Regions from separate parts of the Homo sapiens genome. Here region 2 is linked to region 1. Evidence: promoter capture Hi-C in 16 types of primary human blood cells and fetal thymus (Javierre and others, 2016). All regions are on one chromosome and are shown on one strand. Each heading gives the region's core, a stretch centred on a gene start or on the middle of the fragment in contact. The rest is flanking DNA. Distances are from core to core; before and after follow the strand shown. Region 1 holds the start of CASC11 (cancer susceptibility 11). Region 2 has its middle 97 kb from the start of LINC00976.

Region 1 (6,399 bases), core at 2,581-5,080:
AAAATAAAAGAAGGCCAAGCTGGAGGTATGACCAAAGTTTACTAGGTCCATTCTGAGACCTTCTGCTAGGGTCTGAGATCTAGAAGACAGTGAATAAGGAAACAAACCCAAAACTCAACGCAACACAGGATATGGAAGCTCTCAGGCCTGACGTTAACAGCATCTACTATTTTTCTTCTCAGCTACTTTAATGAATGCAGTATACTAAAAGCCAGGAGGGGAAGGGACAACACTAAGCAAAAAACATGCATTTTTTAAAATGCACAGATTTTCTTCACTGCCGTTTTTGTTATCATTCCTATGAATTAGTGATGCCGAATTTCATTTTCTCATCTGCTGAAGAGCTTTCCTGTGTTCCTCTCGTTGGAACACATGCTTGGCATTAAAATGCTTGTGAGAACTTCTCTTCCTTTAACGTTCCCTGGCTAGCTTGGTTTTTAATCTAACAGCCCTTCTTTCAAAATGATCCTTCCACTGGAGATAGATATTTATCATTCTCTTCCTTCACCTCATCTCTTGACAGGCCGCACGTGACTTGAAGGAATTTTTCAAATAGCAGCTCAGCCACCCTGAGGGGCTTCAGTCTCACCCCTAAGTTCGCTGGCTTTTTCTTCACCACGTCCAGTTGCTTTCCATCTTATTAACTGCTCTTTTCACTAGAGGACCAACTCAGTAGGAAATTTTTTGAGAGGTGGAGAAAGAGATGTTCAAAGAAGGTGTTGGGGTCGGGGGAAACTGGTTTTATTTTATACAAGTCACACATTCTGAATCTTCCCTTTTGTGTCTCTGGGGAGAAAGGAGAAAGTTTGATCAAATCGCTCATTATTTCTGCACTTCTTTCTTTTTTCCTAAGTATAAAAATATATGACTACTACTACTGTGAGACTATGTGATTGTGAGAATGAATGATTCTTTTTTTTTTTTTTTTTTTTTTGAAACGGAGTCTCTCGCTGTCACCCAGGCTGGAGTGCAGTAGCACGATCTTGGCTCACTGCAACATCTGCCTCCCGGGTTCAAGCAATTCTCCTGCCTCAGCCTCCTGAGTAGCTGGGACTACAGGTGCGCTCCACCACCCCCAGCTAATTTTTGTATTTTTAGTGGAGACGGGGTTTCACCATGTTGGTCAGGCTGGTCTTGAACTCCTGACCTCATGATCCTCTCACCTCGGCCTCACAAAGTGCTAGGATTACAGGCGCATGGCCAAGAATGAATGATTATTTGTGCCTTCCTATGTGAAAAAAAAATGTTTCCTCTAGCTACACACTATTCTGTTCTGTGAGGCCGCCCCATCAGACTGTTGACCTAGAGTCCCAACCCCGGCCCTCCAGGAGACCTGCCTGTTCTTAGAAGCCCAACCCACTCAGCAGCAGCTCCAAATAACAGGGGGAGCCAACAAAAAAGAGTGCTGCTAGAGCAACAAGCAAGGGGCAATTAGTCAGAAGGCAACTTCCATGGTCTTCCAAAAAAAATTGAGGTGAAAGACCAAAGATGTCCCTAAAATGTCTTCCTAAAAGATAAACTTCATCAACTACCTCTGACTGGTCAGTATTAAGAACCACTTTCAGGCCAGGTGTCATGGTTCACGCCTGTAACTCCATCTACTCCAGAGGCTGAGGCAGGACAATTGCTTCAGGCCGGAGGATTGCTTGAGGCCAGGAGCTGGAGACCAAGCCTGAGCAACACAGTGAGACCTCATCTCTACCAAAAATGTACCTCTATTAAAAAACAAAAAAGAAGAAGAAGAAGAAGAAGAAGGAGAGGAGGCTGGGTATGGTGGCTAATGCCTTTGTAATCCCAGAACTTTGGAAGGCTGAGGCAGGAGAATCACTTAGGCTGAGGCAGGAGAATCACCAGAGTCTAGGAGTTTGAGACCAGCCTGGGCAACATAGTGAGACCCCCATCTCTACAAAAAAAAAAATTCAAAAATTAGCCAAGCGTGGGGTTTGTGCCTGTAGACCCAACTACTCAGGAGGCTCAGGTAGGAGGATCACCTGAGTCCAGGGAGGTCGAGGCTGCAGTGAGTCATGATTATTCCACTGCCTTCCAGCCTAGACTACAGGGTGAGACCCTGTCTTAAAAAAAAAATTAAAGAAGAAAAAACTCTCTTTTCTTTTCTTTCTTTCTTCTTCTTCTTTTCTTTTTTTTTTTTTCTTTTTTTTTTTTTAGAGATGGCACGTCACCACATTGCCCAGGCTGTTGTCGAACTCCTGGCCTCAAACGATGCTCCCACTTGAGCCTCCCAAAGTGCTGGGACTACAAGCATAAGCCACCACACACGGCCTTTTCCTTTCTTTTTCTATTTCTCAATGGATTTTTCCAATGGACACGTATCACTTTGGTAGTTATACATGATACTAGTTGTAATCTCAGCCATTTTTCAACCCAGCAAATGTCTATTCTAGGTCAAATATGTCTCAAAAATTACTAAAAGAAAATCAGTTATGTCCTTTAACCTGGCTGAGGTCTGGCTTTGTTTTCTCTCATGTAAAAATGGAGATGGCACAAAACAACTCCAAGCTGTTACTTGAAAGTAACACCTCAGGTGATGTCACCAGCCTGAGGGAGAGTGAGGTTAAGTTCTGAACCCACAGGCATTATATCTGCCTGGGGTTCACATGCCCTACACTGGACTGGCATAATTTGAGAGTCAGATCCGAAGATGTGGTATATCCGCCATCTTTAGCAACTTTCAAAAACTACCCTATGAGGTCAAGCTGGACCTACTTTTGGTTTTGCCATTGTTGTTTGTTTGTTGTTGAGGGTTTTCTTTGAGGGGCGGGGAGTGCATGCCCCTGTGGAGAGCACTCATTTAGCTTCAATTAGAGTAATGCCAAAAGTGCCAGATTCCTGGGAAATCAGCCTACAAGGCTCCTGCGGGAAGGAACCTCCACTGCCAGAAGTCCTTAGGGCATCTAAGTGATCAGACACCGTCAGGGATTCTTTGCCCCGTAAAAACCTACTTGACCAGGGACACGTGCCAGGTAAATTTCCTTCACATTTACTTCAACCTTATTGCATACTCATTTTAGTATTAAAACCTTTAATAAAATGCTCCTATTCCTTCACACTTTTTTTCTATGAGATCTCAAATACCCCTTCTTGCTATTAAAAAAAATCACTTATTATTCACCAGCCCAATATTTTAAAAGTAAAAATAATAAGCCAAGGCCAGGAGCGATGACTCGCACTTGTATTCCCAGCAGTTTCAGAGGCAAAGGCCGAAGGATCGCTTTAACCGAGGAGTTTGAGACCAGCCTGGGCAACATGACCAGACTGCCTCTCTACAAAAAGTTTAAAAAATTAACCGGGTGTGGTGGTGCACTGCACTCCCAGCTACTGGGCTGGGGTATCAGGCTGAGGTAGGAGGTTTGCTTTGAGCCCGGGGGGATCGAGGCTGCAGTGAGCTTTGATTGTGCCACTGCACTCCAGCCTGGGTGACAGAAGGAGACCCTGTCTCAAAAATAATAAGAATAATAATTAATAATAATAGGCCAAACCAAATACCCATCACCTTCTGCTGTGCCTCCCCTTTCCCCAATAAATCCAGTGTCTTGCTTTCAAATTTTGTGGTTAAAAAAGATGATGAGTTTCTAAGACGTGGGGGCTAAAGCTTGTTTGGCCGTTTTAGGGTTTGTTGGAATTTTTTTTTCGTCTATGTACTTGTGAATTATTTCACGTTTGCCATTACCGGTTCTCCATAGGGTGATGTTCATTAGCAGTGGTGATAGGTTAATTTTCACCATCTCTTATGCGGTTGAATAGTCACCTCTGAACCACTTTTTCCTCCAGTAACTCCTCTTTCTTCGGACCTTCTGCAGCCAACCTGAAAGAATAACAAGGAGGTGGCTGGAAACTTGTTTTAAGGAACCGCCTGTCCTTCCCCCGCTGGAAACCTTGCACCTCGGACGCTCCTGCTCCTGCCCCCACCTGACCCCCGCCCTCGTTGACATCCAGGCGCGATGATCTCTGCTGCCAGTAGAGGGCACACTTACTTTACTTTCGCAAACCTGAACGCGGGTGCTGCCCAGAGAGGGGGCGGAGGGAAAGACGCTTTGCAGCAAAATCCAGCATAGCGATTGGTTGCTCCCCGCGTTTGCGGCAAAGGCCTGGAGGCAGGAGTAATTTGCAATCCTTAAAGCTGAATTGTGCAGTGCATCGGATTTGGAAGCTACTATATTCACTTAACACTTGAACGCTGAGCTGCAAACTCAACGGGTAATAACCCATCTTGAACAGCGTACATGCTATACACGCACCCCTTTCCCCCGAATTGTTTTCTCTTTTGGAGGTGGTGGAGGGAGAGAAAAGTTTACTTAAAATGCCTTTGGGTGAGGGACCAAGGATGAGAAGAATGTTTTTTGTTTTTCATGCCGTGGAATAACACAAAATAAAAAATCCCGAGGGAATATACATTATATATTAAATATAGATCATTTCAGGGAGCAAACAAATCATGTGTGGGGCTGGGCAACTAGCTAAGTCGAAGCGTAAATAAAATGTGAATACACGTTTGCGGGTTACATACAGTGCACTTTCACTAGTATTCAGAAAAAATTGTGAGTCAGTGAACTAGGAAATTAATGCCTGGAAGGCAGCCAAATTTTAATTAGCTCAAGACTCCCCCCCCCCCAAAAAAAGGCACGGAAGTAATACTCCTCTCCTCTTCTTTGATCAGAATCGATGCATTTTTTGTGCATGACCGCATTTCCAATAATAAAAGGGGAAAGAGGACCTGGAAAGGAATTAAACGTCCGGTTTGTCCGGGGAGGAAAGAGTTAACGGTTTTTTTCACAAGGGTCTCTGCTGACTCCCCCGGCTCGGTCCACAAGCTCTCCACTTGCCCCTTTTAGGAAGTCCGGTCCCGCGGTTCGGGTACCCCCTGCCCCTCCCATATTCTCCCGTCTAGCACCTTTGATTTCTCCCAAACCCGGCAGCCCGAGACTGTTGCAAACCGGCGCCACAGGGCGCAAAGGGGATTTGTCTCTTCTGAAACCTGGCTGAGAAATTGGGAACTCCGTGTGGGAGGCGTGGGGGTGGGACGGTGGGGTACAGACTGGCAGAGAGCAGGCAACCTCCCTCTCGCCCTAGCCCAGCTCTGGAACAGGCAGACACATCTCAGGGCTAAACAGACGCCTCCCGCACGGGGCCCCACGGAAGCCTGAGCAGGCGGGGCAGGAGGGGCGGTATCTGCTGCTTTGGCAGCAAATTGGGGGACTCAGTCTGGGTGGAAGGTATCCAATCCAGATAGCTGTGCATACATAATGCATAATACATGACTCCCCCCAACAAATGCAATGGGAGTTTATTCATAACGCGCTCTCCAAGTATACGTGGCAATGCGTTGCTGGGTTATTTTAATCATTCTAGGCATCGTTTTCCTCCTTATGCCTCTATCATTCCTCCCTATCTACACTAACATCCCACGCTCTGAACGCGCGCCCATTAATACCCTTCTTTCCTCCACTCTCCCTGGGACTCTTGATCAAAGCGCGGCCCTTTCCCCAGCCTTAGCGAGGCGCCCTGCAGCCTGGTACGCGCGTGGCGTGGCGGTGGGCGCGCAGTGCGTTCTCGGTGTGGAGGGCAGCTGTTCCGCCTGCGATGATTTATACTCACAGGACAAGGATGCGGTTTGTCAAACAGTACTGCTACGGAGGAGCAGCAGAGAAAGGGAGAGGGTTTGAGAGGGAGCAAAAGAAAATGGTAGGCGCGCGTAGTTAATTCATGCGGCTCTCTTACTCTGTTTACATCCTAGAGCTAGAGTGCTCGGCTGCCCGGCTGAGTCTCCTCCCCACCTTCCCCACCCTCCCCACCCTCCCCATAAGCGCCCCTCCCGGGTTCCCAAAGCAGAGGGCGTGGGGGAAAAGAAAAAAGATCCTCTCTCGCTAATCTCCGCCCACCGGCCCTTTATAATGCGAGGGTCTGGACGGCTGAGGACCCCCGAGCTGTGCTGCTCGCGGCCGCCACCGCCGGGCCCCGGCCGTCCCTGGCTCCCCTCCTGCCTCGAGAAGGGCAGGGCTTCTCAGAGGCTTGGCGGGAAAAAGAACGGAGGGAGGGATCGCGCTGAGTATAAAAGCCGGTTTTCGGGGCTTTATCTAACTCGCTGTAGTAATTCCAGCGAGAGGCAGAGGGAGCGAGCGGGCGGCCGGCTAGGGTGGAAGAGCCGGGCGAGCAGAGCTGCGCTGCGGGCGTCCTGGGAAGGGAGATCCGGAGCGAATAGGGGGCTTCGCCTCTGGCCCAGCCCTCCCGCTGATCCCCCAGCCAGCGGTCCGCAACCCTTGCCGCATCCACGAAACTTTGCCCATAGCAGCGGGCGGGCACTTTGCACTGGAACTTACAACACCCGAGCAAGGACGCGACTCTCCCGACGCGGGGAGGCTATTCTGCCCATTTGGGGACACT
Region 2 (6,399 bases), core at 2,644-5,143, 1.1 Mb after region 1:
CCCTTGGTGATAAGTGAGCTGTGGGTCTGAGCTTCCCACAAGATCCGGTCCAGATGTTTCTCGTCTCTCTCTCTCCTCTCTCTCACTCCCATTTTTACCATATGATGTCCCTCTTCTTCATTCACCTTCTGCCATGACTGAAAACTCCCTGAGGCCTCCCTAGAATCCAAGCAGGTGCCAGCACCATGCTTCCTGAAAAGCCTGCAGAACTGCGAGCCAATTAAATCTCTTTATAAATTACCCAGTCTCAGGTATTTCTTTATAGCGTGCAAGCATGGCCTATCACAGGCAGCACAAAGGCCCTGGGCCCTTAAAAGGAAGGAGAAAGAGAGTAAGAATTAGTATAGGAAGGCATCGGCAAAATTCTGTAAACAGCCAGATGTTTTCTACCCTGCAGGCTGAAATAAAACATCATACACTTAAACATTTTTGAAATCTGCTTTTTGAACCAATCTTTAATCTGCCATTGAAAAGGAACCATTTTTTATTTTCATAATTTTTTTTTTTACCTGGGAGCTGAAAGGGAGACTTAGTGTAGACAAAGAAGTCACTGGGCTGAGTAAGATGGAATCTGCTGCTGCCCTACTCCTCTCCACCCAGGCAACCTGAACTTTCTGGGGAATCCAAGAGCCAAACAGGGAGATTCTGACCACCCAGAAAGGGACAAGATTCGTGCTTTACCTGAAAGAAGGACCAGGAAAGACTTCCTATGGGCCATTTCCATTGATTTTTGGGGAGACTATCTCTGATACAATGGAAATATTTTTAGTGGTTAATTTCATTTATTGCGCATATATGTTGGTAATCCTAGTGCTGGATAAACCTTGCTTTTAATAGCAATTTTCTCTTGAGCAAGCAGCTCACCATGTTTGAGCCTCGGTTTCTTTAGCTGCCAAATGAGGACACAATGATGATGTCATTATTAGAAATACATAACCAATTTTTTTTTTTTAAAAAGACATAATTGCTGATAGAGAGGAGGAGCTCAATAAATGACAGTTCTTTCTGTTTGGCACACCAAGTCTCTGCCCTTGACTGAAGAGGTTACAGATACATTATTCCAATAGTTAAGCCAATTATTGCCAATATTTATTGAGCCACCACAAAAAACCCAAGAGTGAACTGGGCACTAAGGAAGCAGAATTTAATCTCTGCATTTAGGAAGCTAGTAGTCTAGTGGAATATGGTTCAAGTACAATGCAAGGTATTTTTGGAAGTAAATGTAGAATTGTATGCTACAAACATCTAGTACTTTAGATTTTAGGAAACAGTGAATTCAAATGGAGCTGAGATCAGCACAGAATCCTTCAGGGAGGCGATGCTAGTGCCTAAGTCCTAAAGGGTGAGCATGATCTGGGTGGGTGGGAAGGTGAAAGAAGGCAATGTTCATCTTTAACCCACCATTACATGAGAAATGACTCACAAAATAACCTTGCCTCACCTCAAAGGAGGCCACAGTGTTATTCATTTTCTTGGAAAGAGAGCTAAAGTTTCCAAGGCATTTTGAAAAGAGAATTGGATGCTACACCTTTTTATGATTCAACCATTTCCAGATATGATTCCATTAAGTGCCTTTTTAAGACTTCTGCTATCATTCTCTGAAGCTCAGGGAAAAGATTCTTTGTGGTTTGACATTCCTTTTCATTTACTCTGGAGGAAAACTCACCATGAAAATTTCCATATGTTCATCTTCTCCTGTACATATTTATATCAACAGTTTCCCTTTTAACAACTTTCAAAACGTATGCTCTTTCCAAAGTTATTTTCCCTAAAAGTAATTCACCAGTAACATAATTCATAGATTACGGGGACTGCACAAAGTTATAGAGGCAGGTGTGACATTTCTACTTGGTAAAAGTCATTGTCCCAGAGCATAACAAGGGGCAAGATTTACCCACTGGCTTGAGGTATTCACATTGTTCTATTATGATCTGTGATAAACTTATCACTGCTGAAGCAGGCTGTTGGTTTTAGCAAGAGATTGTTACCATATATATTTGTGATATAAAATCCATCTTAATGAAAAAACATAGCATGTGGGTGGGCAAGAGAGGCAGTCAGTAAATGCAAAATCATGAGATTGGAAGCTATTGATTTCCGTACTCCCTCCACCCCCAGGTTCTGTGAAACTGAAATAAGAAGCAAAAGTTAAATAACATGAGAATATTTGAACTTGCAAATATCAAGCCAGGAATTTCCTAAAGAAGCATTACAGGCTTTTTATAATGAGATAGTCAATCCCATTATCCCAAAGAGTCCAGTTTAGTTTTGGCATTTACATACACTGCCTTAATAGCCTGGTGTAATTCTGAATATATGTTTTAATAGGTACATGTATGTAGGCTAAAGAAGAGACAGCATTTAACAAAAGTATGGTTTGGCCATGTTCATACTCCCTAATAGCCATAATCAAATATCTCCTCATTCTGTTGTGTGATTCTTTATATATATATATATATATATATATATATATATATATATATATATATATACTTTAAGTTCTGGGGTACATGTGCATAACTTGCAGGTTTGTTACATAGGTATACACGTGCCACAGTGGTTTGCTGCACCCATCAGCCAGTCATCTACATTAGGTATTTTTCCTAATGCTATCCCTCCCCTAACCCCTCACCCCCAACAGGTTCCAGTTTGTGATGTTCCTCTCCCTGTGTCCGTGTGTTCTCATTATTCAACTCCTAGTTATGAGTGAGAACACGCAGTGTTTGGTTTTCTGTTCTTGTGTTTGCTAAGAATGATGGTTTCCAGCTTCATCCCTGTCCCTGCAAAGGACATGAACTCATCCTTTTTTATGGCTGCATAGTATTCTATGATGTATATGTGCCACATTTTCTTTATCCAGTCTATCATTGATGGGCATTTGGGTTGGTTCCAAGTATTTGCTAATGGGCCACATACATGCTTAACCAAGGAGACTCTTCCAGAGCATCCTATGTCTTTATGCCTTTAGACCAAAGTAAATGTGTATTGGAAATAGAGATGGACCAACACCAGAAAAGCCACACTGTGATCTGAGAACATCATTTATGATCTAGAACATCATTTATCCCTCTGCCATGTTTTCATGCTTGAAATGAAGAGGTAGACTAGAAAACCTCTAAGGTTCCACCATCACTGATTTCTTGCTAAGATTAAGAAGAATCAATGGAAATTAGCATGGACCATCTACAAAGGAGAGCTCTTGATGTGCTCCTCACTGCATGAAGCACAGCTCAAGCATTTTCCCACTTTCAACTCTTGGGCTGTTGGCCAAGATAAATGAGTTGCTATGTGGAAAGCACTGAACACATAGCTCTCTAAAATTTAAAAGAAAAAAAAAAGGAAAAGAGAAAGGGGCCCTATTAAGCAGGTACTGTTATTTTCCCTATTTTATAAAAGAGGAAATTGAGGTTGTAGATAGGTAAAATATTCCGCCCAAGGCCACCCAAATAACATGGCATGAAGCCATGACTCAAATTTAGGGCCCTCAAATCCAAAGTTCACATTGAATTGCTGTTTATAAATCTGAAAGTAAGAGAGTTGCATAACCATAGAGCAAAGAAGATGCCCAACTCTTCCTGAACAACAGTATAGGTGGTCAAAAATTTTAAAGGTATTGTGTTTTGGTGATGCAAGTGGAAGAAGAACCAAAAGTAATGGTAAGCTAGAACTATTAGAGATGGATTTGGGATTTGAATTTTCAAGATGGATGTGTTCCAGGTTCATGTACTGCTGAGCAGTTAGTTACATTTAATGCTTGTTTCTCATTTTAGTTCACATACCTTTCAAATAAGAAGTATATGAAGTAAAAGCTTGGATTTGCTATGTTTATAGTCTTATTACAACTTTTAATAAAGTTGTTTCCTATGCAAAAACAAAATGGCCAAGATTCTGATCTCACAAATATAGGTTTCCTCCCTTGCTTTATTTCTTGATCCATTCGTCTTTCCATTTATTTATTCAAAAGCACAACTATTAAACAAAGCTTTAGGGATACTCAGAAGAGAAAGGGGGATGTATTGCTGGGGAATTAAGGAAGGTTTTTCAAAGGAAATGCAGGTTGAATTTGGTATTGATGAAGGAGAAGGAGTTCACTGAATATCCAAAAGGGAAGCGAGTCAGGGGTTGGCATTTCAGACAGTGTTCCGGGGATGATTACAGATAAGATGGCTTTTTTGAGATGGTGAAAAGTTCAGGAGGTGGTTGAAGGCTACGGGGATAGGATGAGAATTTCTTGCTATGTAGGAGTGAGAGAAGGACACCGTGCGATGACAGACAAAGTAAGTTTTGAACCATACACTAAAGGGTTTGAGTTGAATGGAGAATTTACGTTAGAAAGTAAATTGAAAGGGATTTTCAAAGGAAGGATGGAATCATTCCACTGGGTTCGGATGAGGGGAGTTCAGACTGGTTTCCTGGTTGTAAGAAAAGGAATTCATTCTACGCTGTAAAATGTTATTCCAATGATAAATTCTCTCACTAGCATATCCACTTTGAAAAACAACGTTATGAACTTCCCTGCCCTGTAATTCAGGAACCATAGAGATTTAGATCATGCATCTTTGAAGTGTTCCCTACAGTGTAATACTGGCCACCCAGCCTGCAGCATCTGCTCCGTCTGTGTCCAGTTTCCTTCTCTTGCACCACGACCGATGCAGCTCTTCTTTTTTGGTGTACCTCAAATTCAGAAGCACACCACTTCTGCCTCCTTTTCAGGCTGGCTTTCTCCATTCTTCTCATTCTTGCTCCTTCCCCTCTTTCCTTCTTTCTTTGTACTCATTTTCCTCCCACCCTCTGTTCTTCCCACTTTCCCTCCCTCCTTTTCTTCCTTCCTTCCTTTCTTTTAAAATCAAGTGAACACAATTATCCCCGTTTTCCAGATGAGGAAACATAAAGAAATGAAGTGACTTGCCCAGGGTTGCTGATCTCTATTCTATCTGCATTCTCCTGAACTGCCTTTACCCTATATTTTAGAAATGGATTTTAAGGGCAATATTTAGAAATCAAAAATAAAACTAAATTTTAAAAAAACTAAAATTTCTCAAAGAACTTACACTATTTCACGGGTAGGACAAAACTATAGGCCAAAAAGAAAGCTTCAGATTTCCATATAACATGCCAATTGTATATTTTGCCATATAATTATTATTGATCAGAAAATATTGAGTTTTTTGCTACTTTTTAAAATTAAAAACTGTGATTTCCTTGTAATATTGTGACTCATAAGATAATACTGAATTTAAAAAAAAGTCTACCACTATATGACAAATACACAGTTTTCATTTTCTCATATTCCCATTTTATTCCATTCAAATATGTTTTACATGAATAAAATCATACTATTTATAAAATCCTGCTTAATATTTTTATGCTGATATCTACATTGTGCAGTGTTCACATTTATCATATTTAAAACATATATTTTACTACCTAATAAACTTATGGATTTAATTATCCTCCTATTGTTGCATATTAGGTAGACATAATAGTTTTTGCTCCTAGAAGTAGCACTGTAGTGAAAATTTCTTACGTATGCCATTCAGTCTTGCTAAATTGTTTTATTAAAATAAATCTCTCACTAGACTATAAACTTTTTCAAACAGTTTTTGCCTTGTTTGTTTTTGCAGATCAAGTGCTCAACTGGGGCACACAATTAGGACTTTTTGAATAAAATAAATAAAATAATTCTAAGATTCATAATCATTGGGGCAAAAGATATGAATAGCTATCTGGCTTTTAATATTTGTTAAATATTACCTAAAGAGTCATACAGTTTCCAATGACTTTAGCAATGTACAGGTTTCATCACAATAGGACAGTACTGGCTGTTAAAATTTTAAAAAATTTTATGAATGTCGTTGTTAGTAAAAGAAGTTGCTTTAATTTAGAAGCCTCTGATTAGTTTTTTTCTTTCAACTATTTTTTTGTTGTTTACTAATTTTTCTTTTAAGAAATTATGTCCTTATAAGTGAGAATCTCCTTAAAGTATTTTTCATTAGCCAACATTTTTGTCTGTGAAGAGGAAGGAGAAAGAAAAGAAGGAGGAAGAAGAGAAACTTCTAGCCCAACTTTTCCACTTCAGGGAGTAGATTTTAAATGTGTTTCATTCAGGACTGCCATCTTAACTAGACCCAACGGCATGAAATTTGAAAGCATATCAAGTTTACCTTTTCAAAGGAGATGCTGCTAAGTGAAGTTAGGATATTCATGTATATTCAGAACTTTCAAACTGTGCCCCAGCATCAAATGCCAAAATACTATACAGCACATAAACATCTTTGTTCTGCTGAAAATGATATTGCTCGGGTCAAAATGTCTCTATGGCAATATTTCTAACTCAGGAAATTGTTCAGGGAATTAATGTGAACTACACTTCCAGAAGCTAAAATGAAGTGCCTTTGC

The links. Contacts are between HindIII fragments. The CHiCAGO score rates a contact against its expected background, and 5 or more counts as called.
Region 2: a contact is called between a fragment that was not itself captured here and the fragment with the promoter of CASC11 in region 1, in 2 of 17 cell types (total CD8 T cells and megakaryocytes). The highest score is 7.7, in total CD8 T cells.

The regions. Positions count from the first base shown.
Region 1 is chr8:127,730,137-127,736,535 of GRCh38, forward strand. CASC11 (cancer susceptibility 11) reads right to left here and starts at 3,831. Exons shown (of 4, transcript NR_117102.1): 1 at 3,689-3,831. MYC (MYC proto-oncogene, bHLH transcription factor) reads left to right here and starts at 6,095. Exons shown (of 3, transcript NM_002467.6): 1 at 6,095-6,399. RefSeq lists an enhancer at 2,500-3,001, a cis regulatory region at 2,581-5,323 and silencers at 3,906-4,025, 5,811-6,000. The HindIII fragment of the contact is 10,989 bases long and covers 3,609-6,399 here.
Region 2 is chr8:128,865,623-128,872,021 of GRCh38, forward strand. No RefSeq gene overlaps it. Among named protein-coding and RNA genes, the nearest start is that of LINC00976, 97 kb to the right of the region's middle. The HindIII fragment of the contact is 173 bases long and covers 3,808-3,980 here.